6 separate regions of the Homo sapiens genome follow, and regions 2, 3, 4, 5 and 6 are each linked to region 1. The links are contacts of gene promoters, found by promoter capture Hi-C in blood cells and fetal thymus (Javierre and others, 2016). All regions are on one chromosome and are shown on one strand. The core of a region is centred on a gene start or on the middle of the fragment in contact, and the rest is flanking DNA. Distances in the headings are between cores, read along the strand shown. Region 1 holds the start of POP4 (POP4 ribonuclease P/MRP subunit). Region 2 holds the start of LSM14A (LSM14A mRNA processing body assembly factor). Region 3 holds the start of CEBPG (CCAAT enhancer binding protein gamma). Region 4 holds the start of TRT-AGT1-3 (tRNA-Thr (anticodon AGT) 1-3). Region 5 overlaps FAAP24 (FA core complex associated protein 24). Region 6 holds the start of ANKRD27 (ankyrin repeat domain 27).

Region 1 (3,274 bases), core at 485-2,984:
CCTTGAGTACACAGCTCTGAAACTGGCTAACATCTTCTGCTGTCTCATTTGATTTTAAAGTTCACATTTGTGAAGGGCTCTATTGTACAACATGGTGACTATAGTTAATAACAGTGAATTTCAGTTAATAACCTGAATTTCACTGAGAGTAGGTCTGAAGTGTTCTCATCACAAAATGAGTGTATTAGCATCGCTCATAGCTCATTTAGCCATTACACAATGTATACACATTTCAAACCATATTGTATACCATAAATACATACAATTCTTATTGGTTAATTTTAAAAATAATAAAAGTTCTCTATCAGTCCCATAAATTACAATTTTCAGGCATCTGCAAAGGCAGCATGTTTTGGTTTAAATGTGGTCTTTCCAAATTTTATACGTATAAAATAAATGCATAAGTGTACTACATATGCAAAAACTAATACATAAATTTTATAAAGTCAATGCACGCGGGGTCACTGGGATGAACCAATTTCAGTGCCTGCAGTCTAATGTTTAAAATCAAAATGGTACAAGGTCACCACCAAAGAAATTGTTTAAGCCAATGTTTCTCAAACTAAAACCTTTGGACATACTCCCAGAATCCCCTGTAAAGAAATGTATACTGTACTCAAAGTTGAGAACCACTGACTTAGCATAAAGGGACCGTATTTCTTTTCTCTCCCACCCAGCACAGGCCCAGTGCTCAGCAGAAATTGGGGCTCCACAGTTCTGCCCAACACTGGGTCACTGCTGAGAAGTCTGCACCAGGCCTTCCTGCACCTTTCCACTGAGCAATGGAGTTTGTTTATTCATTTATTTATTTATATGGAATTTATTTATTTATTTTGGAGACAGGGTCTCACTCTGTCACCCAGGCTGGAGTGCAGTAGCGCAATCCAGGTTCACTGCAGCCCTAAACTCCTTGGGCTCAACTGATCCTCCCACCTCAGATACCCGAGTAGTTGGGACTACAAGCACGCACCACCACGCCTGGATAATTTTTTTTAAATGTTTTGTAGAGATGGGGTCTCCCGATGTTGCCCAGGCTGGTCTCGAACTCCTGGGCTCAAGAGATCCTCCCGCCTGCGCCTCCCACGGTGTGAGCCACCTTTGATCTTATTGCTATGATTTTTTTATTGATAAAAACTAATAAATATTCTGAGTCTCAAGAAAGCTTTCTGAAACTATCAAAGGGACCCAGGCGGCGCATCACTACCTGTGAGGCCGACCCCACTCACAGCACAGACTGCAAGTGAGGCTTACAGATGGGAAGTGCCCTAAGCGAGGTTAAACAGCTAGTTAGCAGCAGACACGGAACTAGAACCTAAGCCTGCTGTCCCAGCTTCGGTGCCCGTGCTCACAGCGGAAGCTGCCTCGGCTCATCCGTAAGGGCGCTGATTAGGGACGACAAAGACCTCACCCCACCGTCCCCGTCCCATTTCCGCCCTCCCAGATCCCCAACCTCCTTCGAGTCCTCTCCAAGTCGCCTCGCCTCGCTCCACTCCAGGCCTTAGCAAGCATTCCACATGCCTTTACCCCAACCCTACTGCCTGTCCCCCAAAAGATGCAGGCGGAAAAGACCCCAGGAAGCGAGCCCACTCCTCCCCACTGCTCAGCAACACCGCCTACGACGTTCTCAGTAGCCGAATCCCTTTCCAGGCGCATGCGCCCCCGAGGTGGGCGAGCGCCGGTGATGTCACGCATAGCGCCATCTCCGAGCTCCGAGAGTCTGCGACAGCAGCTGCCAGTGCGTCATCAGAGAGCGCCGGAAGCGGTCCGAGAATGAAGAGTAAGCGGGGCCGCGAAGTTGGAGAGGGTTGGGGACGTTAAGGGTCGGGGTCTTGGTACTGGTGGGTGAAATGGGTCCGGGCTACCTGTTGCTGCGGAGTCCTAACAGAACCGCTACAGGAATGGGCCCACCCTACCTAAGAAAAACTGAGGGCTGGAGCACGGGTTAGCCTGGCTCGACCTCTGAGCTAGGGAGGGATGTCAGGGCTGGAGGCAGGTTCTCCCGGAGGCTGCTCAGTGGTGTGCGATGCTAGAGGAGGGTTCCAGGCCTTGGCTCAACTTGGCCACTATCTCCCGGGGTGACCGCGGTCAAGATCCTGCTCCTTTCTGCGAGCTGGTTTCACACTCTTAACCTGATGCAAAGCGCCGAGAGCTGCTGGGGAATGATATCACTAACCCAAAGCTTTGGTCCTTAGGGGTAGAAGACATGTGCCAAGGAGGGGCGTGTAGACACCGTTAAGACTGGGCCTTCAATCAGAATTTTTATTTTTCATCTCTGCCACTTTCTACCTATATGATCAAGTAGATTGTCTCGGCATGTCTGAGCTTCAGTTTGCTCATGCACATAAGTGTAATGAGAAAAAATATGTGTACCTTGTAATGAGGTTTCTGGCAAGTAATGGATGTTCAGTAATTGTTAGATGTGTATTGTTGCAGAAAGACTTCCAAGTCTGTTACTAAGCACCTGTAACAGATGAAGCAAAGTTATCAGGCCCCGCAAGTTGCTCTCTACAGTTTATAATCCCCATCTTCCATTTGAGGGAGAACTAGATGCTATATATAAAACTTGCAACCACATTGGTTTGCTTGATCAAACAAACATACCTGGCTGGGTGTGGTGGGACACGCCTGTGGTCCCAGCACTTTGGGAGGCTGAGGCAGGGGGATCACTTGAGGCCAAGAGTTGAAGACCAACTTGGGCAACAACATAGCGAGACCCTGTCTCTACAAAAACTGGAAAAAAAAAAAAAGAATTAGCCAGGTGTGGTGGCACACACCTGTAGTCTCAGCTACTCAGGAGACTGAGGTGGGAGGATCACTTGAAACCAGGAGGTCGAAGTTGCAGTGAGCTATGATTGTGCCACTGCACTCCAGCCAGGGCAACAGAGCAAAACCCAGTATCAAAACAAACAAACAAACAACAAAAAAAAAAAACTTGTAACCACCTTGCATCAAACATTCTCAGGGAAGTACAAGAAAGCTGGAATTAAATTTACAGAGTATAGTGTAAATTACATTTTCTAGCTATTTAGCTCATAAACCAGGCCTTAGTAGTCCCATTCTTATTCCATTCACACCTGTACTCTGTCCCCAGTGCCATGGTTTTCTTCTTTCAAAAAATTAAGAAACAGAAGTGTGGAATTTATTTTAGAGGTTGAAACTTTATTGACCAATGTATATTTTGAGTTTAAAGGAAAAACTTGTATTTTATCAGTTCAGGACACCATCGATTATGTGACACATTATAATTTCATATTAAAATGTGAAGAATCTTTTT
Region 2 (3,274 bases), core at 250-2,749, 4.6 Mb after region 1:
GTCATCTCTGGAGGTGATGCTTGAGCAGAGACTGGAATAAAGTGCTCAAGTACTGGTTGAATTAGACGCGACTGGAACAGAACGAGAAGCTAAATCATGTATATCCTTAGACACCAAAGTCTGGTTTTCTCTCTGTGTAACATGGGATCAGTAGAGTGAGTAGAGGAAGGACATGATCTGAGTTAGATTTTTTTTTTTTTTTTTGAGACGGAGTCTCGCTCTGTCGCCCAGGCTGGAGTGCAGTGGCACAATCTCGGCTCACCACAACCTCCGCCTCCTGGGTTCAAGCAATTCTCCTGCCTCAGCCTCCCAAGTAGCTGAGACTATAGGCGCGCGCCACCACGCCTGGCTAATTTTTTTATATTTTTAGTAGAGACGGGGTTTCACCATGTTGGCCAGGCTGGTCTCGAACTCCTGACCGGTGATGCGCCCGCCTCGGGCCCCCAAAGTACTGGGAGTACAGGCGTGAGCCACTGCGCCCAGCCCTGAGTTAGATTTTAAGAAGATCTCTCTGGCTGCTGTATTGAGAATAAAGTACTGGGGGCAAGAGTTGACACAGAGGCAACTTTTAGAAGGCTACTGCAATAATTCAGCCCGAGTAATCGTGGCTTGTGGGAGAAGTGTAGGAATGGAGATGAGAAGTCAGATTTAGGATATATTGTGTATACATAACGGAGAGGTGTAGTCAGAACAGATGTGGAAGCAAGACAGGGCAAGGCTGACTCACGGCTTTTAGTCTGAGCAGCTGAGTAAAAATGGTACCGTTTACATCAAATAGGGAACGGTGGTGAAGGAGCAGGTTAGAGGGGAAACAGGGAGCATGGCTTTGGACCCTTAACGTTTGAGATTCGACAGAAACCCTGGTTCACGGAATTGATCCAAGCTACATACTGATAATTGGGATTAGTGAGTTACAATGGCGTTGCAAGCCATGAAACTGGTTCAGACCGGCTGAATGAGCGGGACAGGAAGGGGCTGAAACACTTGAGTCCTTGTGAGAGCCCCAGCTCCAGGGGCAGCCTCGGGGGAAGCTCCCCGGGCGATGACTGCGGTAATGGAGCCGTAGGAGCTCCACGAGGTGCAGGTTCAGCGTCTTAGAAGGATGAGCAGCGGCTCGCCACAGCTCGGAGGCGGGTGGGCAGCGCTCCAGGCCGAGGGCCCCGCGTCGGCAAAGACACAGGACCCACGACAAGGCGGCCACGGCCTGAGTCAAAAGGAAGGCCGCGCGCCTCCTCTCCAGCCCGCAGCAAGCGGGTGCCACGAGGCACTCAGCCGGTCCCCGAAGTTCCTCTCACGCGGCCCCAAGACCACCACCGTAGTCCAGGCCAACAAGCGCTGCCGGGACTCCCGAGGCCACGAATGAGCCGGGAGCCACCAGTAGCCGGCCAAGTCTCGCGAGAGCGCGGCCTCGCCCTCCCAGCATGCCCCGCGCCGCCGCCGCTGCCGCCGCCGCCGCCGCCGCCGCGCCGCGGCTTGAGGGCGGGAGGCTGGGGGAGGGTAGCGGAGCCGGCGCCGCCGCCATGTTGGGTCTGAAGCGGCTGCTGTAGGCGCCGACGGAGCGAGCGGGCGTGCGGAGCGGGCGACAGTGGCGTGGGATCTGCCTCTCTGCGAGCAGCTGGGAGCGGCGGCGGCGGCGCCATGAGCGGGGGCACCCCTTACATCGGCAGCAAGATCAGCCTCATCTCCAAGGCGGAGATCCGCTACGAGGGCATCCTCTACACCATCGACACCGAAAACTCCACCGTAGCCCTTGCCAAAGGTACGCGGGACCGGGCCTCAGGGTGGGGGCCGAGCCGGGCGCCGCTCGGGGCTGCTCCCCGCTCCGGCCCGCGGCCTCCTCGTTCCCTCCCCTCCCTCCGTCGAGCTCCGGGAGGCCTCTCGCCTCCCTTCTCCGGGCCCCGGCGTCGCGGGCCGGACCGCGGCCTCCCCGCGGCTCCCTGGTTTCCGCCCCCCGGAATGTCCGCGCCTGAAGCCCGGGGAACTACGGGACTGAGTGCGCGGCGGGCGGCCCTGAAGTCCGAGAACGGGCCGGAGAACACGGAGAAACGCGTCTTCCAACTCCGAAATTCGGGGCTTCTGCCGTCTTAGCACAAAACAAAGCCGGAGTATTCAAAGAATTTTTCCGCCCAGCTTGAGTTCATCGCGGATGCGTTGACTACACAGCACCCATTTTCTCACTTTGTTCATTTCAATTCGTGGCGATCTTCCTCTGGTGAACTCTTGAGTAATGTGCTAAAACTTTGGGTTTGCTCTGCGACGCAGACATTCTCGAAATGCCATCGATGCCGTGGAGCAGATCCCATCTCCCTCGGCTCATCCTCTGTTGGTATTTACCTGTTAAACCGGAATCCTCAAAGCCTGTTGTGCAACCACCTCATTAGGGCGCGTGGTAAAAATGCTTGCTGCTGCCCCGACGCCCCTGTTTCTGGAAACGGGTTCAAGCTTGATCCAGGATCCTTCTTGACCAGGCAAGCTTGACCTTTGATCCAGGCTCAGTGGGCGTTGACTGATCCCTCTGGAGGCTCTCTGGGAAAGGGAATTCGGCCGAGAAGGAAGGTGCCCCTACCCACAGTGTTAATATTTGGCATCCCTAGAGTCTGTGTGGGTTTTGTTTCCGTTCACACGTGCAGGGCCTTTGCTCCGCCAGGAAACCAGAAAGAAAATAAACTTTAGCTCCTGAATCTTAAAGGAAATCTCACAACAGTGTAAAATACTTTGAGGGAAGCTAGATAACCTAGGTGATTTTCCCAGCACTTCTGGTAGAGGTGGGAACTGCATAGCATGGTTAGGGACCCTGTGGATAGGTTAGGTCCAAGGATAAAGAAGAAGATTTTCGAAATCTGTAAAATTTTAAAAATCGTTAACAGATAGGGGAGTGGTTTCACGGGATCAAGTATTTAATAATATTTCTTGGATGCTCTGGTAAATCCTTTATTTATTTATTTATTTATTTATTTTTCTAAGATGGAGTTTAGCTCTTTTTGCTCAGGCTGGAGTGCAAAGGCAATGATTTCGGCTCACTGCAACGTCCGCCTCCCGGGTTCAAGTGATTCTCCTGCCTCAGCCTCCCAAGTAGCTGGGATTATAGGCGCCTGCCACCACCCCTAGCTAATTTGGTATTTTTAGTAGAGACGGGGTTTCACCATGTTGGCCAGGCTGGTCTCGAACTCCTGACCTCAGGTGATCCACCCGCCTCGGCCACCCAAAGTGCTGGGATTACAGGCATGAGCCACCGCGCCCAGCCTCTGGTAAATCTTTTTAATAGCCCTGGTGT
Region 3 (3,274 bases), core at 293-2,792, 3.8 Mb after region 1:
CCTCCCATCTCAGACTCCAGAGTAGCTGGGACCACAGGCACAGCGCCACCACACCCGGCTAATCTTCTGTATTTTTGGTAGAGATGGGGTTTTTCCATGTTGCCCAGGCTGGTCTCTAATTCCCGACCTGAAGTGATCAGCCTGCCTCGGCCTCGCAGAGTGCTGGGATTACAGACCTGAGCCACCGCGCCCAGCCCATTGTTCACCGTTGTGACCCCTTTTAATTTTTATTTATTGCTTTATCATCTTACTGATTCCTCGAAACAATCTTACGGGGCGAGCCGGTTCCATGGGCGCTGAAGAAACATTTCCTCTTTCAAAGCCTCAATTGTTTGAACGATACGCGTTGCTAAAGAGGAAGCAATTAAACCTATCAGGCGAGTTCTGCCCTCCGCCCAGCGAGCTGCTGCTTCCTGGTGTTAAAACGCTTTCGGGGCCAGGCGCGGTGGCTCACGCCTGTAATCCCAGCACTTTGGGAGGCCGAGGCGGGCGGATCACGAGGTCAGAAGATCGAGACCATCCCGGCTAAAACGGTGAAACCCCGTCTCTACTAAAAAAATACAAAAAATTAGCCGGGCGTAGTGGCGGGCGCCTGTAGTCCCAGCTACTTGGGAGGCTGAGGCAGGAGAATGGCGTGAACCCGGGAGGCGGAGCTTGCAGTGAGCCGAGATTGCGCCACTGCACTCCAGCCTGGGCGACAGAGCGAGACTCCGTCTCAAAAAAAAAAAAAAAAAAAACGCTTTCGGGTTCTCCTGGCGAGTTTTAAGTCACACTGGATCGCTGCTTATTTTCAGAGATCACCTCGCACCCATGCACCTGGAAGGCACCCAAAGAGAATCATTTTAAGAAATTCACTTCATCTCACCCTAACAACAAAGCACAGCCTGCAGCACATGGATTTCACCCATGTGACATCAATGCTAATCCTATGTGTGAAACATCTGGGTTCATTCGATTTTTTAAAAATTAGTAACTGAGATGGGGTCTCGCTATGTTGTCCAGGCTGGTTCTCCAACGCCTGGGCTCAAGCCATTCTCCCGCCTCGGCCTCCCTCGGCGCTGAGATTATAGGCGGGAGCCACCGCGTCAGCCTCCACTCTTTTTGCGGCGACAAAGCCCGCCCGCCTGCGGGGCGTTCCGTTCGCAGAAACTCTGTGAGGGACGCCGCGGGGGCTTCCAAGGGACGCGGCGAAACCAAAACAGTCGCCGGTGGTTCACAAAACCACCTCAGAAAATGCTTCCAAAGGCACGTCTGGCCTCCACAAGGTGACGGCTTTTCAGCCTCCGACTCGAACTTGAGTCGTCCACAGCACTAGGCCGCCGCCAGCCCGGGCGAGCTGCCTAGGGACCGCGGACGCCGCAGCAAGCAGCTCCCTGCTCCCGCCACACCCGCCGAGCCAGCCGCGCGGAACCCACTCCCCCACCGTGGGCCCGCCTCCCGCCGCCAGCCTGCCCACGATTGGTCGACTGGGCTGCCCGTCGCGAGAGAAGGCGGTGCCTCCGGCAGGCCGGCGCTCCCATTGGCCGGGATGGCGGCGGCGGCGCGCGCGGCCCCGGCGAGCAGGGGAAGCCGGTGGCCGCGGCTGCGGAACGGGCGGAGGCTGCCGGTTTCGTAACCGTCGCTCCTCCTCGCTGACTCGCGGGCTGTGAGGCCTGGGTCGGCTCGGGCCGCACCGCGCGGGGCCGCTCGGAGTGGAGGCCGCCTGGGGGCAGGCGGGCTAGAGGAGCAGGTAAGGAGGCTGCGGCGGGCGCCCTGAGAACGGGGAGGAGGAGGCCGCGGCGACGCCGGCCGCTCGACTGGGTGCGGGCCCGGCTCGGGGAAACCCAGCCCCGGCCCCAGACGGCCCGCTGGCCCGGGAAGGCCACGCGAGGCTGGAGGCGCGGGCGGCGGCGCCGCGCGGCGTCTGATGCAACCTGCCGGCAACACCCGGCGGGGACGCTGAGCTCATTCCTGGCCGCGGCCCAGCGCTGCGGCGCCGCCCGTCGACCCCCGCGCTGCCCGGGGCGCCCCTCGCGGCGGGCCGGGAGCGCGCGAACGGCCGGGGAATGCCCCCTGCGGAGCCCGGCCCCCTCTCGGTGAAACGGGCGCTGTGACCCGCCAGGCTCGCATTGGCCCCTGGGGATGAAGGGTGTTCCCAGAATAGCAGAAGGTGGACCGAGTCGAGCTTTAGAATCCTGATCTTCTAGAAGGGCTCAGCTTGCGGTGATCGAAAATCTGTTCAGAAGTTCAAAGACTGATCAATAAAATAGGGAAAGCAACTGGTTTTTAAATGCATGACTTTGCAGAGATAATATTTTGCTTCTTTGTGGAGCTGTTGGAATGTCCTGCACTTTACTGTTGAACGTAGTTTAGAAGAACACGCAACACCTACGGGTCGAATAGAGAAGAAATGAAGCACTTCGCAGGCATAGTTGGAGGGAGCGGAGCAGGGCCGACAGCCAGCGGAGGTGACCAGATGCGAAGGATGGAAATGCATGTGTCGCGGGGGGAGGAGAGTGTTTTCCAGGGCAGCTGGTGTGTTGCTTCTCTTCCGCAGGTTTACGTGTTGGGTTTTCCTCTTGTTTGAAGTTTATACTGTAATCTGGCATCCTGAAATGTATAAGATTTAGAAAGGTCTCAATGTTGATGGGTGACACCAAAATTGGTAGTTGTGTCAGAATTGACTGCTTATATGAATAGGTTGTCACTTAAGGCAGACTTCTCCCAAAGAAATGTGACTCCCAGAGAAAATTTTAAAAGAAAATCCTATAAGGGCTTGCTTTACGAAGACATTCTACACCTAGAAGCTCTTGATATTTAAGATGTGGTCATCTGTTAGCCCTTGAGTAGTATTTGGGATAAGCTGTTCATAAGGTCGATTCTGCTTCTGGAAAAAGTTGCTGTAAACAAGGCTAAATAATTACAGGGTACAAGGGAGCTGAAGCATATTTCAGCTTCTTGATTCCTGCTTTTGGTGGGCACACTTGGCTGGTTCAGTTATTTTTAATACCTGCTTTTAAAAAAAGTAGATGGAAACAAAACTTCATTGAGAATATCCTTTAAATTCTCAAGATCACATCATGTCTGTCTGCAAGGCTGTCTGATCTTGGAGAGATGGTTTCATCCCTGGGAAATTAAACACTATGTGCTGAGCCCCTGGTAAAGACAAATAGGACCTCGTGGGGCTGAATTTGGTCTCGTGGTCTAAGATTGCCTCACTTGGTCACAGTAATGGTAAATACAGGTAGCCACGATTCCAGCTGTATTGTGCGTTCTTGGGAGGGTTGGTTCCATG
Region 4 (3,274 bases), core at 558-3,057, 3.6 Mb after region 1:
CAGGGACGCAGGAGGGCACCTAGCACCTGCATCAATCTGCTTCACACCCCTGCTTTGTTCAGAAATCTTGCCTACTTGCGTCTCATGGTTCTGTAAAAGTTGGGTGTTCTCAGGATGTCAGGGAGTCATCCTCTTAGTCCCACAATTTTACTCGGCACAGAACAATGGATGGGGCGGGACACTCACCCCCATCCTCCCAACTGTCAAGGGGCTTGCCACGCATGTCCTCAGGACCCCCATGGCAGGAGACATGAGCTGGCAGGAGACATGAGCTGGCAGGAGACATGAGCTGGCAGGACCTGCTTAGCCATTGGTGGGGAAGCAGCCTGTGCTCATTCTCTCTGCAATTTCCGCCTTTGTGGGGTTAGAGATTCCAGAGAGGGGCTGCGCCCAGTGGCTCACGCCTGTAATCCCAGCACTCTGGGCTGCCAAGGTGGGTGGATCACTTGAGGCCAGGAGTTCAAGACCAGCCTGGCCAACATGGAGAAACCCCATCTCTACTAAAAATACAAAAATTAGCAGGATGTGGTGGTGCACGCCTGTAATCCCAGCTACTCGGGTGGCTGAGGCAGGAGAATTGCTTGAACCTGGGAGGCGGAGGTTGCAGTAAGCCTAGATGGTGCCACTGCACTCCAGCCTGGGCAACAAAGTGAGACTCTGTCTCAAAAACAAAAACAAAAACAAACAAACAAACCAAAAAGAGATTCCAGAGAGGGGAACCCTTGCCTTGCCCCAGCTCAAGGTAGCTGGGAGAATTCTAATGGCATGCCTGGATCACCTCTGACCAGCACCTCCTTTCTGCTCTTTTAAAATATCCCATGTCAGTGCGAAAGATGTGACAGGCCTTTCTCCATCTTCAAGAGTGACACCTCTTCTGAAATGTTCACCCAATGCGTGTTCTGCCGGATAGATACAAGGGGCTTGCCAGCAGATACTTCATCGTCATCATCATCATCGGAAAGGGAGAACTCACCGCCGCCAAGGGGAAGCAAGGATGACTGACAGCCACAGGCCCCTTTGAGTGACTCCAGCACAGGCTACCTAGCATGTAGGTTTCGGGGCTTTGCAGGGGCTTTCTCTTGGGCCCCTCCCAGGCTCAGCAGGCCTGTCAGACTGGGGCAGGACCCAAGCCCTGGCTGGACTCAGCACAGTGCCACCTCCTCAGCTCTCAGCTTGGGGAGTGAACACTTTCCGTTTTCATGCAGAATAAATCTAATTCCTTTGGAAAACAAGCGTGCATGTGCATCTGAAAAGCAGTCTTGCTATTTCTAAGCTTTATGTCTTGGTGCTCATCCTGTTTGATTCTTGGAACACATATTAGACTCACATTGTGGAGTCTGGAGTTGCCCTGTAAGGTGACCTGTGGGGGCTGGCACCAGCAGTTCTGGAGAGTTTGTCAAATGAGTATGACAAGGTGTGGGGCCCCCTCTGTGGACGTGATGGCAAGACACAATGAGTGCCTCCCTGGCTAATGCTCCCAGATGGCCACTTGCCCGGAGCAGAGGACGGTTTGGTTAGGCAAGGGGGTGGCGGTGGCATTGCCATCACGGGATGTCTCACGCTTTCTCCTCTAGACGTCTTAATTTCCAGAACCCCTTGCTTATGTGCAGCCCTCTTCCTGCTGCCACGGCATTTTGCACAGCGTGCATCAATCCAGAAATAGGCTGAGATAGGAGCTTAGTTTCCTATTGCACACCATGCTGGGTGAACCTTTCTGTGCATGCTGCAGGGATGCTGGGTGGATGGGTTGGCAGTGTTCGGCTTCGTAGTTGCCCACAGGCCCTCTGGAAAGTGCGGAGACCAGTGGCTGGTGTAGTTGCGTGAGGACACCCAGAAGGGGTCAGTGAGAAACTAGGGAGGGGAGGGCCTTGCCTGCTCTGGCAGCAGAAACCCCTCCATGTAAGGTGTTGGTGCTCCACGCCAGCAGCCTGGGAACCCTGAAGTCCACGATCCCTCCTGAGCCTTCCGGACCCCTCGACTTTCCCCCAGCTCAGGATCCGCGGAAGTAGCGACTCAACTGAAGTTATAGTCCCGGGAGCTGGCAGGGCCCCGGGTCTTCTCAGGCTGAGGTCGCGGGGCAGAATGGTCCGAAGCTCACCGGGGTCACAGTCGGACCGAGGCGGGTGTGCGCCTCGACCGGACGCCAGGGGAGCCAGCAGCCCGGCCGCGCTGGCGGGGCCGGGGGTTCTCCGGAGTGGGTAGGGGCTCGACCGCACTGCCCTGAGTCCCAAGCCCTGCACCAGCGTTCCCCAAAGGCGGAGCGTCCTGGCTCCACGTTGGAAGAGACATTACCGTGACCAGGAAGTCTGGCCTTCCCAGGCTCCGCCCGCTCCGTGCAGCCCAAGCTTCCGGTCTCAGTCTCAGCTGCCTGTGTGAATCGGAAGCTACACTACGCGTGCGCCACAACAGGCCGAATGTGTGCGCATGCGCGCGGCCCATATGGTAAATAGTAATGAAGAATAGTTTAGGAAAGTACCTGTACGGGTGGCGCCGTGGCTTAGTTGGTTAAAGCGCCTGTCTAGTAAACAGGAGATCCTGGGTTCGAATCCCAGCGGTGCCTCAACCGAGCGTCCAAGCTCTTTCCATTTTTGCTCCTGCACTTTTGTGCTCTGTACCCGGCTGCCCGATACTATGAGGGTGTGAGCGGGATCCCGAGAGGCCTAGGTAGACGGGCCCCCCAACGGGGCGTGGCCTCGGCCACGGGGGCGGGTGCAGGCGGGCTTCGGACTCCACCTTCTCGGGTCTCAGGCTCTGTGGGGCGTAGGCGGCGCGGGGACCCAGGCGACCGCGGTTGCCATGGTGCTGGCTGGCCGTGGGAGGCGAGCGGCGGGCTGGGAAGCAGCTGTGCGAGTCCAGCGAGGAGCCGGTGTTCGCCCCGAGGCTGCTTCCTCAGGGCGGGCGGTGGACGCGCTCTCCCACGCCGCCTTCTGTGGCGTGGGTTCCTCGCGCTAGTCTTCCTGGCTCCAAGCTGCCACTTGGGGGAGCCCACGCGGGTGCCGATCCTCGACGTTCGCCGGGCTTAGCTGAGCCTCGCAAAGGCCTGAAGATTGCCCGTCTCCCTGCAGCCGCGCAGTGGGTGCAGCCTTTTCACAAATGCAAGACCTGGACCGGCGGCGAGGCCAAGGGGACCCCGTGTGGAGGGATGCGGGACTGAGTCCGGTTAGCGTGATCCTCAGTCCGATGACTGCGTGGAAACTCCAGGCCAGGCAGGGGACTCTGCCCCAGCTGCAGACGGCCGGGTGTGGGCTGAAGCCAGCTGCCTGGGCTGGGGTTG
Region 5 (3,274 bases), core at 561-3,060, 3.4 Mb after region 1:
TCGGGTTAGAAATGTAAGTATTAGGCTGGGTGCTGTGGCTCACGCCAGTAATCCCAGCACTTTGGGAGGCCAAGGCGGGTGGATCACCTGAGGTCAGTAGTTGGAGACCAGCCTGGCCAACATGGTGAAACCCTGTCTCTGCTAAAAATACAAAAATTAGCTGAGTATGGTGGCGCACGCCTGTAATCCCAGCTACTAGGGAGGCTGAGACGGGAGAATTGCTTGAGCCTGGGAGGCAGAGGCTGTAGTGAGCCGAGATCACGCCACTGCACTCCAGCCTGGGCGACAGAGTGAGATTCCAACTCAAAAAACAAAAAACAAAAACAAAAAAGAAATGTAAGCATTGGATTAAAGAAACTCGAACATTGATTTGTCTCACCCCACCCTTCCCTCCATCCCTTGGTATCATTTATTTAAAATCATTGGCCAGGTCAGGCACGAAGTGATAGCATTCTTAACCTGAAAAGCAATTTGGTTGCAAAATGACTTACTGTCTTTTTTCCTTTCAAGTCCAATAATCTTAAAGGAATTGTAGTCGTTGAAAAAACCCGGATGAGTGAACAATACTTCCCAGCCCTACAGAAGTTTACTGTGCTGGACCTTGGAATGGTGCTGCTTCCAGTGGCCAGCCAGATGGAAGCATCCTGCCTCGTCATCCAGTTGGTGAGTACCGATTCCTACACCTTCGTGGTAGTCCTGTCCTCATGGACACTCAGCTGCTCTCCAGAAGCAACCATCAATCCAATCTATGTCATTCTCTGACTTGGTTTATAAAATCTCTTCGAGGAATTTAAATGCGGAAGCTGCCTCTGCAGCCAGCTCAGCTTGTCACACACTCCAGGCAAGTGTATCACAAAGTATACAAGTTGGAGACCTGATTTTAGATTCTCAGGGTGTGATGGCTCCATCAGTCATTATCCTGCCCTTTCGCTGGTGAAAACGTCAACCTAGAGGCCAGGCGTGATGGCTCATGCTTGTAATCCCAGCACTTTGGGAGGCGGAGGCGGGAGGATCACTTGAGGCCAGCAGTTCGAGACCAGCCTGGCCAACATGGCAAAACCCTGTCTCTACTAAAAATACAAAAATTAGCTGGGCGTGGTGGTGGGTGCATGTAATCCCAGCTACTCCGGAGGCTGAGGCAGGAGAATCACCTGAACTGAGGAGGTGGAGGTTGCAGTGAGTGGAGATGCTCCATTGCACTCCAGCCTGAGCAACAGGAGCGAAACTTTGTCTCAAAAAAAGAAAGAAAGAAAGAAAATGTTAACTAGAAGCTGCTTTGTCTCATCCCGTATTTTTGTTAAGCATCAGCACCTTGTGCAAGTTTTTTTTTTTTCCCTTTTTTTTGAGGCGGAGTCTCGCTCTGTCCTACAGGCCAGAGTGCAGTGGTACAATCTTGGCTCACTGCCATCTCCACCTCCCGGGTTCAAGCCATTCTTCTGCCTCAGCCTCCCGAGTAGCTGGGACTACAGGCACGCACCACCACACCCGGCTAATTTTTGTATTTTTAGTAGACAGGGTTTCACCATATTGGCCAGGCTGGTCTCAAACTCCTGACCTCATGATCCGCCCACCTTGGCCTCCCAAAGTGCTGGGATTACAGGTGTGAGCCACCATGCCTGGGCAGTTTTTTTTTTTTTTTAGATAGGGTCTTGCTCTGTCATTCCAGCTGGAGTGCAGTGGTGCAATCTTGGCTTACTGCAACCTTTGCCTCCTGGGTTCAAGCGATTCTCCTGCCTCAGCCTCCCTAGTACCTGGGATTACAGGCACCCACCACCATGCCCGGCTAATTTTTGTATTTTTAGTAGAGATAAGAGTTTCACCATGTTGGCCAGGCTAGTCTCAAACTCCTGACCTCAGGTGATCTGCCTGCCTCAGCCTCCCAAAGTTCTGGGCCACCGCACCAACCAACACTTTTTTTTTTTTTTTTGAGATGGAGTTTCGCTCTTGTTGCTCAGGTTGGAGTGCAATGATGCAGTCTCGGCTCACTGCAACCTCCTCCTCCTGAGTTCAAGTGATTCTCCTGCCTCAGCCTCCCGAGTAGCTGGAATTACAGGTGCCCGCCACCACGCCCAGCTAATTTGTATTCTTAGTAAAGACGGGGTTTCTCCATGTTGGTCAGGCTGGTCTCGAACTCCCGACCTCAGGTGTTGTGCCCGCCTCAGCCTCCCAAAGTGCTGGGATTACAGTCGTGAGCCATCGCGCCCGGCCGCCAACACTTATTTTTAAAATCAGTTTAGTAGCTTACGCCTCTGATCCCAGCATGGGGAACATCAATTGTGTGTGTGTGTTGTTTGTTTTTTTCACTTTTGTTTTCTTTGTTATGTGTGTGTTGTTTTTAAATCACCCCCTCTGATGTGGAGCTAGAGTTGAGAGCCACATTGAAGATGCAAGCAGCCATGAATGGTTCACAGATCCCTCTCTACTATATCCCTTGCGTCACCGTTCCTAACTTTCCTTGATATAACACTGTTGTCTGCCTTAGTATAACCACCACTAACTAGACCAGGTTTCTCCTTTGAGGCAGGCTTCCTGCAGCTCCTGCGTGAAGTAGGCCTAGTTTAGGTGTAGCCATCATTTAATCCTGCACAACTGAAATGTTTCTTAATGGACCAACAGAAAGTGTTTGAATTCATCTGTGTGTTTTTCTAAACATTCTGAAAACGCACATTTTTGTAAATTAATGTCTTAACTCCTTTGTGTGGTTCACCTTTCAATAATTTTACTGATGTCTGAGAAATTATATTCATGATACATGAAAACATTTGTTCCCTTAAGTCAAGCTGAGCCAAATGGAAAAACGCAATTTCTACAAAACATATTTTAAGAAAACGGCCAGTCCTCCAGAGGGCGCTCACGTGCTGTTGCTTTCATTGTGGTTCAGGTTCAAGAGCAAACCAAAGAGCCCAGTAAGAACCCTCTTCTCGGGAAGAAACGGGCCCTGCTGCTGTCTGAGCCTTCGCTCCTTCGAACCGTGCAGCAGATCCCAGGAGTTGGAAAAGTTAAAGCTCCCCTTCTCCTCCAGAAGTTTCCAAGCATCCAGCAACTGAGTAATGCTTCCATTGGGGAACTGGAGCAGGTGGTCGGACAAGCAGTGGCACAGCAGATCCATGCCTTCTTCACGCAGCCCAGGTGAGGGCTGGCCTCAGGGCCACGGCATCTTCTCCTGAGACCACAAACACCAGGATCTTGTTTTCAGCTTTAAAAACCAAGAGAATGGGCCGGGTGCACTGGCTCACGCCTCTAATCTCAGCACTTTGGGAGGCCGAAGACAGCG
Region 6 (3,274 bases), core at 425-2,924, 3.1 Mb after region 1:
GACCTGGCACATCTGGCCTCTGGCCACCTTTGCAGCTTCCTCACCCTCTGCTGTCTCCAAAGCTTCCCCCGAAGGGAAAGAGTATTTTCCCTCTTTCCACCCATTTTGTCCTGAAAACTACTATCCCCCTGGGAACGACCCTATGTAGCGTGTGGGTGGCTGAGAACCCCCCTTCCACACAATGGTCAAGGCCAGGAGTACCCAAGCCCTGGCAGCAAACACCCAGCCTACTGCTCACCCAGTTAAAGGACGGACCCCTGGGTGACAGCAGGCCCCGGGGCTCAGTACACCGGACCCTTAGGCCACCTCAACACCAGTCCTCATGCCAGGCTGATCTCGAAACGTAACAGCTACTGCTCAGCAAAACGTGGTGGCTAGTGCCTGTAATCCCAACACCTTGGGAGGCCAAGACGAGAGCATGGCTTGAGTCCAGGAGTTCAAGACCAGCCTAGGCAACCTGCTAGACTCCATCTCTACAAAAAAAAAAAAAAAAAATTAAAAATTAGCCGTGCATAGTGGCATGCGCCTGTAGTCCCAGCTACTACAGAGGCTGAGGTGAAAGGATTGCTTGAGTCCAGGAGTTTGAGGCTGCAATGAGCTATGATGGCATCACTGCACTCCAGACTAGCCAACAGAGCCAGACCCTGTCTCAAAAAGAAAAAAACGAAAAGAAAGAAAAGAAAAAAAATATCCACTGCTCTACTCTTCGGCCAGTGGGAAGAGTGCATTTTTTAATCAAAATAGGGGCCTCTATCCATGAAACCCATCAACTTGTAAAATCTGAGCTCTCTGCAGCCTCACAGTCCCTCCAGCACTGCCAGCAGCCCTCGTTCCCTGCATGCTCTAAATCCTCAGCGAAGACCCGTCCCTTGCTCCCTCGCCCAGCACAGGCCGCGAGTGCCCACGTCCCCTGCACCTCGTGGGGCAGCCAAGGGGGCACCGCGTGGCTCGTGTGCTCCTGGGCAGTCCATTTTCAACCACAAGACGGAACAGACTCAGAATCCGGAACATCTCTCGGTGCTTAAGAGTTTTCCTTTAACAATCTTTACCTGTGGGAATGCAGAGACCCCCCCGCCCTGCGAGAGGCCGGCAGCCAGGGATTCCCCGCTCCGCGCCCTCATCACCCCCCGGAAACCACAACCGCTGCGCGCGCGGCTCGGACCCCCACCCGCCGCTCCCCTCCAGCAGACCCTAGGCCTCCGGGAAACCGCGCGGCGACCGCCCCGCGCCCCGCCAGATCCGAACCGCCGGACCCGGCACCCCGGCCACACCCGCCGGTGTCGACGCAGCGAGGCTCGGAGGGTGCATTCTCCGCGCCGACCGCTCCCCTCCTCCAGACCCGAGGGGCGGAGTGGGCAGGGCGCGCCGGCTGCGCACCGGGCACCCACCTGGGGACGCGGGGGCTGGGGCGGCGCGGGGCCACCTGGCGGACCCGGGAGCGGACTCCGGAGAGCAGGGAGCCCCTCCCCCCTCACTCTCCGGGCCCCGCCCGGCCGCCGCGCCCCGAGGCGCAGCCATCCCGCGGGAGGGGAGGCGCAGGAGGAGGCCAGCGCGAGGACACTTACTTAAAAGGCTACATCGCTTCATTCCCAGCCCATCCTGGGCGACGGCGGCACCTCCCTCGTCCGCTGCTGGGACCTCGATGCCCACCACCCTCGCGCGGCGATCTGGCCCTATAGCCCACCCCTTACTCCGCCGTGGGGCGGAGCCGCGCCACAGCTGACCCAATGAGAAACCGTCGTTTCCCAGAGTGACGTGTACGCAGAGCAATCATGGAGTCCAGCCCAGCCGGGGGCGGGGCTCAGGCGGCTCCCTACGCTTCCTACTCCAGCTGGCCCCGCCCCACGCCCGCAACTGCGCGTGCCCAGAACGTGAGGGGCGGGGCTGGGAGCCGGGCTGACACTAGAGGTGGGGTTAGCGCTTGGAAGCACCGACCAACGTGAGCGCAACGCGGCAGGGACACCTGACCCCGGCGGCGCCCAGCCCCTCGGATTGCCAGTCACTGCTCGCTTTGGGGCACGGAGGTGCCCAGTCCTGCGGGGCACCCGACGTCCTGTCGCCGACAGGGTCCGGGAGTCAGTATAGCTGGGTTCTAGTCCCATCACAGGCAAAAACTCCGCGGGAGCCTGGCCCGCTTTTTACCTGGGCCTCAGTTTCCCCATCCGTAAAATAGAACGGGTTGGATCTCCCGAGCGCTAACATTCCAGAACTCGGATGGGGCGAAGGGGAGGGAGGGATGGGCCACCCACACGTGACCTCCCCGCGTGGAGCCCCGCCTACCACTGATCCAGGGGGTGGCAGCTCCGGCCGGGACGAGCGGGGTGGGCGGGTCCTAGGAAACCCTACCCGGCCGCCCTTGGCAGCGCCTAAGGCGGAGCGCGCGGCTCTGCAGCCTGCTTGCCCCGGAGTTGGCACCCACGGAGGATGGGGACCGCACCCTCAGCTTCGCAGGGAGCCACCGTGGAGGCCAGGGCGGTGCAGAGACACGACGTGTGACTCGGAGTGCGCCTGGGGAGGATGGACGAGGGAGCGGGGGACCGCTAACGGGGCTCCCTCTGCGCGCCCCGTCCGCAGAGGCGCACGTCGAGGGTCCCGGGCGGGCTCCGTGGACGTTGGCGGTAGCGCCGAGCGAGTCACGGACCATGAAGAGCGTTCGTGCCGCGCGGCCCAAGGCCGGGATGGGGGTTAGCCACATCCTGCCGCGCTGAGGGGGAGGCTAACGGGCGCGGGCGGCCGGGCCCAGCCGGAGCCCACCGCGATGGCGAGGGAGGAGTGCAAGGCGCTGCTGGACGGGCTCAACAAGACGACTGCGTGCTACCACCACCTGGTGCTGACCGTCGGTGGCTCGGCGGACTCGCAGAACCTGCGGCAGGAGCTGCAAAAGACGCGCCAGAAGGCGCAGGAGCTGGCGGTGTCCACCTGCGCCCGGCTGACTGCTGTGCTGCGCGACCGGGGCCTGGCCGCCGACGAGCGCGCCGAGTTCGAGCGGCTCTGGGTGGCCTTCTCGGGCTGCCTGGACCTGCTGGAAGCGGACATGCGACGCGCGCTGGAGCTGGGCGCCGCGTTCCCGCTGCACGCGCCGCGGCGGCCGCTGGTGCGCACAGGTGTGGCTGGCGCCTCCTCCGGCGTGGCGGCGCGCGCGCTGAGCACCCGCAGCCTGCGGCTCGAGGCGGAGGGCGACTTCGACGTCGCGGACCTGCGGGAGCTGGAGCGCGAGGTCCTTCAGGTGGGCGAGATGATCGACAACATGGAGATGAAGGTCAACGTGCCCCGC

What was found. Contacts are between HindIII fragments. The CHiCAGO score rates a contact against its expected background, and 5 or more counts as called.
Region 2: a contact is called between the fragment with the promoter of LSM14A here and the fragment with the promoter of POP4 in region 1, in 2 of 17 cell types (fetal thymus and monocytes). The highest score is 5.8, in fetal thymus.
Region 3: a contact is called between the fragment with the promoter of CEBPG here and the fragment with the promoter of POP4 in region 1, in 1 of 17 cell types (non-activated CD4 T cells). The highest score is 6.0, in non-activated CD4 T cells.
Region 4: a fragment that was not itself captured here is called in contact with the fragment with the promoter of POP4 in region 1 in 3 of 17 cell types (naive CD8 T cells, fetal thymus and naive CD4 T cells); the score reaches 6.6 in naive CD8 T cells.
Region 5: a fragment that was not itself captured here is called in contact with the fragment with the promoter of POP4 in region 1 in 1 of 17 cell types (fetal thymus); the score reaches 6.3 in fetal thymus.
Region 6: the fragment with the promoter of ANKRD27 here is called in contact with the fragment with the promoter of POP4 in region 1 in 1 of 17 cell types (total B cells); the score reaches 7.7 in total B cells.

What each region holds. Positions count from the first base shown.
Region 1 is chr19:29,604,549-29,607,822 of GRCh38, forward strand. POP4 (POP4 ribonuclease P/MRP subunit) reads left to right here and starts at 1,735. Exons shown (of 7, transcript NM_006627.3): 1 at 1,735-1,777. The coding sequence starts at 1,771. RefSeq lists an enhancer at 1,388-1,877. The HindIII fragment of the contact is 1,017 bases long and covers 1,161-2,177 here.
Region 2 is chr19:34,171,005-34,174,278 of GRCh38, forward strand. LSM14A (LSM14A mRNA processing body assembly factor) reads left to right here and starts at 1,500. Exons shown (of 10, transcript NM_015578.4): 1 at 1,500-1,759. The coding sequence starts at 1,639. The HindIII fragment of the contact is 4,496 bases long and covers 1-2,440 here.
Region 3 is chr19:33,372,167-33,375,440 of GRCh38, forward strand. It overlaps CEBPG (CCAAT enhancer binding protein gamma), which reads left to right and starts at 1,543. Exons shown (of 2, transcript NM_001806.4): 1 at 1,543-1,729. RefSeq lists a silencer at 1,330-2,139. The HindIII fragment of the contact is 8,186 bases long and covers 1-3,274 here.
Region 4 is chr19:33,174,571-33,177,844 of GRCh38, forward strand. WDR88 (WD repeat domain 88) reads left to right here. Exons shown (of 11, transcript NM_173479.4): 11 at 826-1,229. The coding sequence ends at 1,002. It overlaps TRT-AGT1-3 (tRNA-Thr (anticodon AGT) 1-3), which reads left to right and starts at 2,487; the gene lies at 2,487-2,560. It overlaps LOC124904691 (a long non-coding RNA gene), which reads right to left and starts at 2,308. Exons shown (of 2, transcript XR_007067228.1): 1 at 1-2,308. RefSeq lists enhancers at 1,380-2,144, 1,857-1,926, 3,017-3,076, 3,087-3,206 and silencers at 2,127-2,286, 2,487-2,846. The HindIII fragment of the contact is 1,072 bases long and covers 1,272-2,343 here.
Region 5 is chr19:32,973,550-32,976,823 of GRCh38, forward strand. FAAP24 (FA core complex associated protein 24) reads left to right here. Exons shown (of 5, transcript NM_152266.5): 3 at 1-13; 4 at 511-663; 5 at 2,882-3,274. The coding sequence ends at 3,133. Among named protein-coding and RNA genes, the nearest start is that of FAAP24, 2.9 kb to the left of the region's middle. The HindIII fragment of the contact is 3,940 bases long and covers 1-3,274 here.
Region 6 is chr19:32,673,506-32,676,779 of GRCh38, forward strand. It overlaps ANKRD27 (ankyrin repeat domain 27), which reads right to left and starts at 1,675. Exons shown (of 29, transcript NM_032139.3): 1 at 1,566-1,675. It overlaps RGS9BP (regulator of G protein signaling 9 binding protein), which reads left to right and starts at 2,343. Exons shown (of 1, transcript NM_207391.3): 1 at 2,343-3,274. The coding sequence starts at 2,759. RefSeq lists silencers at 1,160-1,209, 1,230-1,959, 2,530-2,589 and enhancers at 1,603-2,222, 2,110-2,219, 2,990-3,039. The HindIII fragment of the contact is 4,511 bases long and covers 61-3,274 here.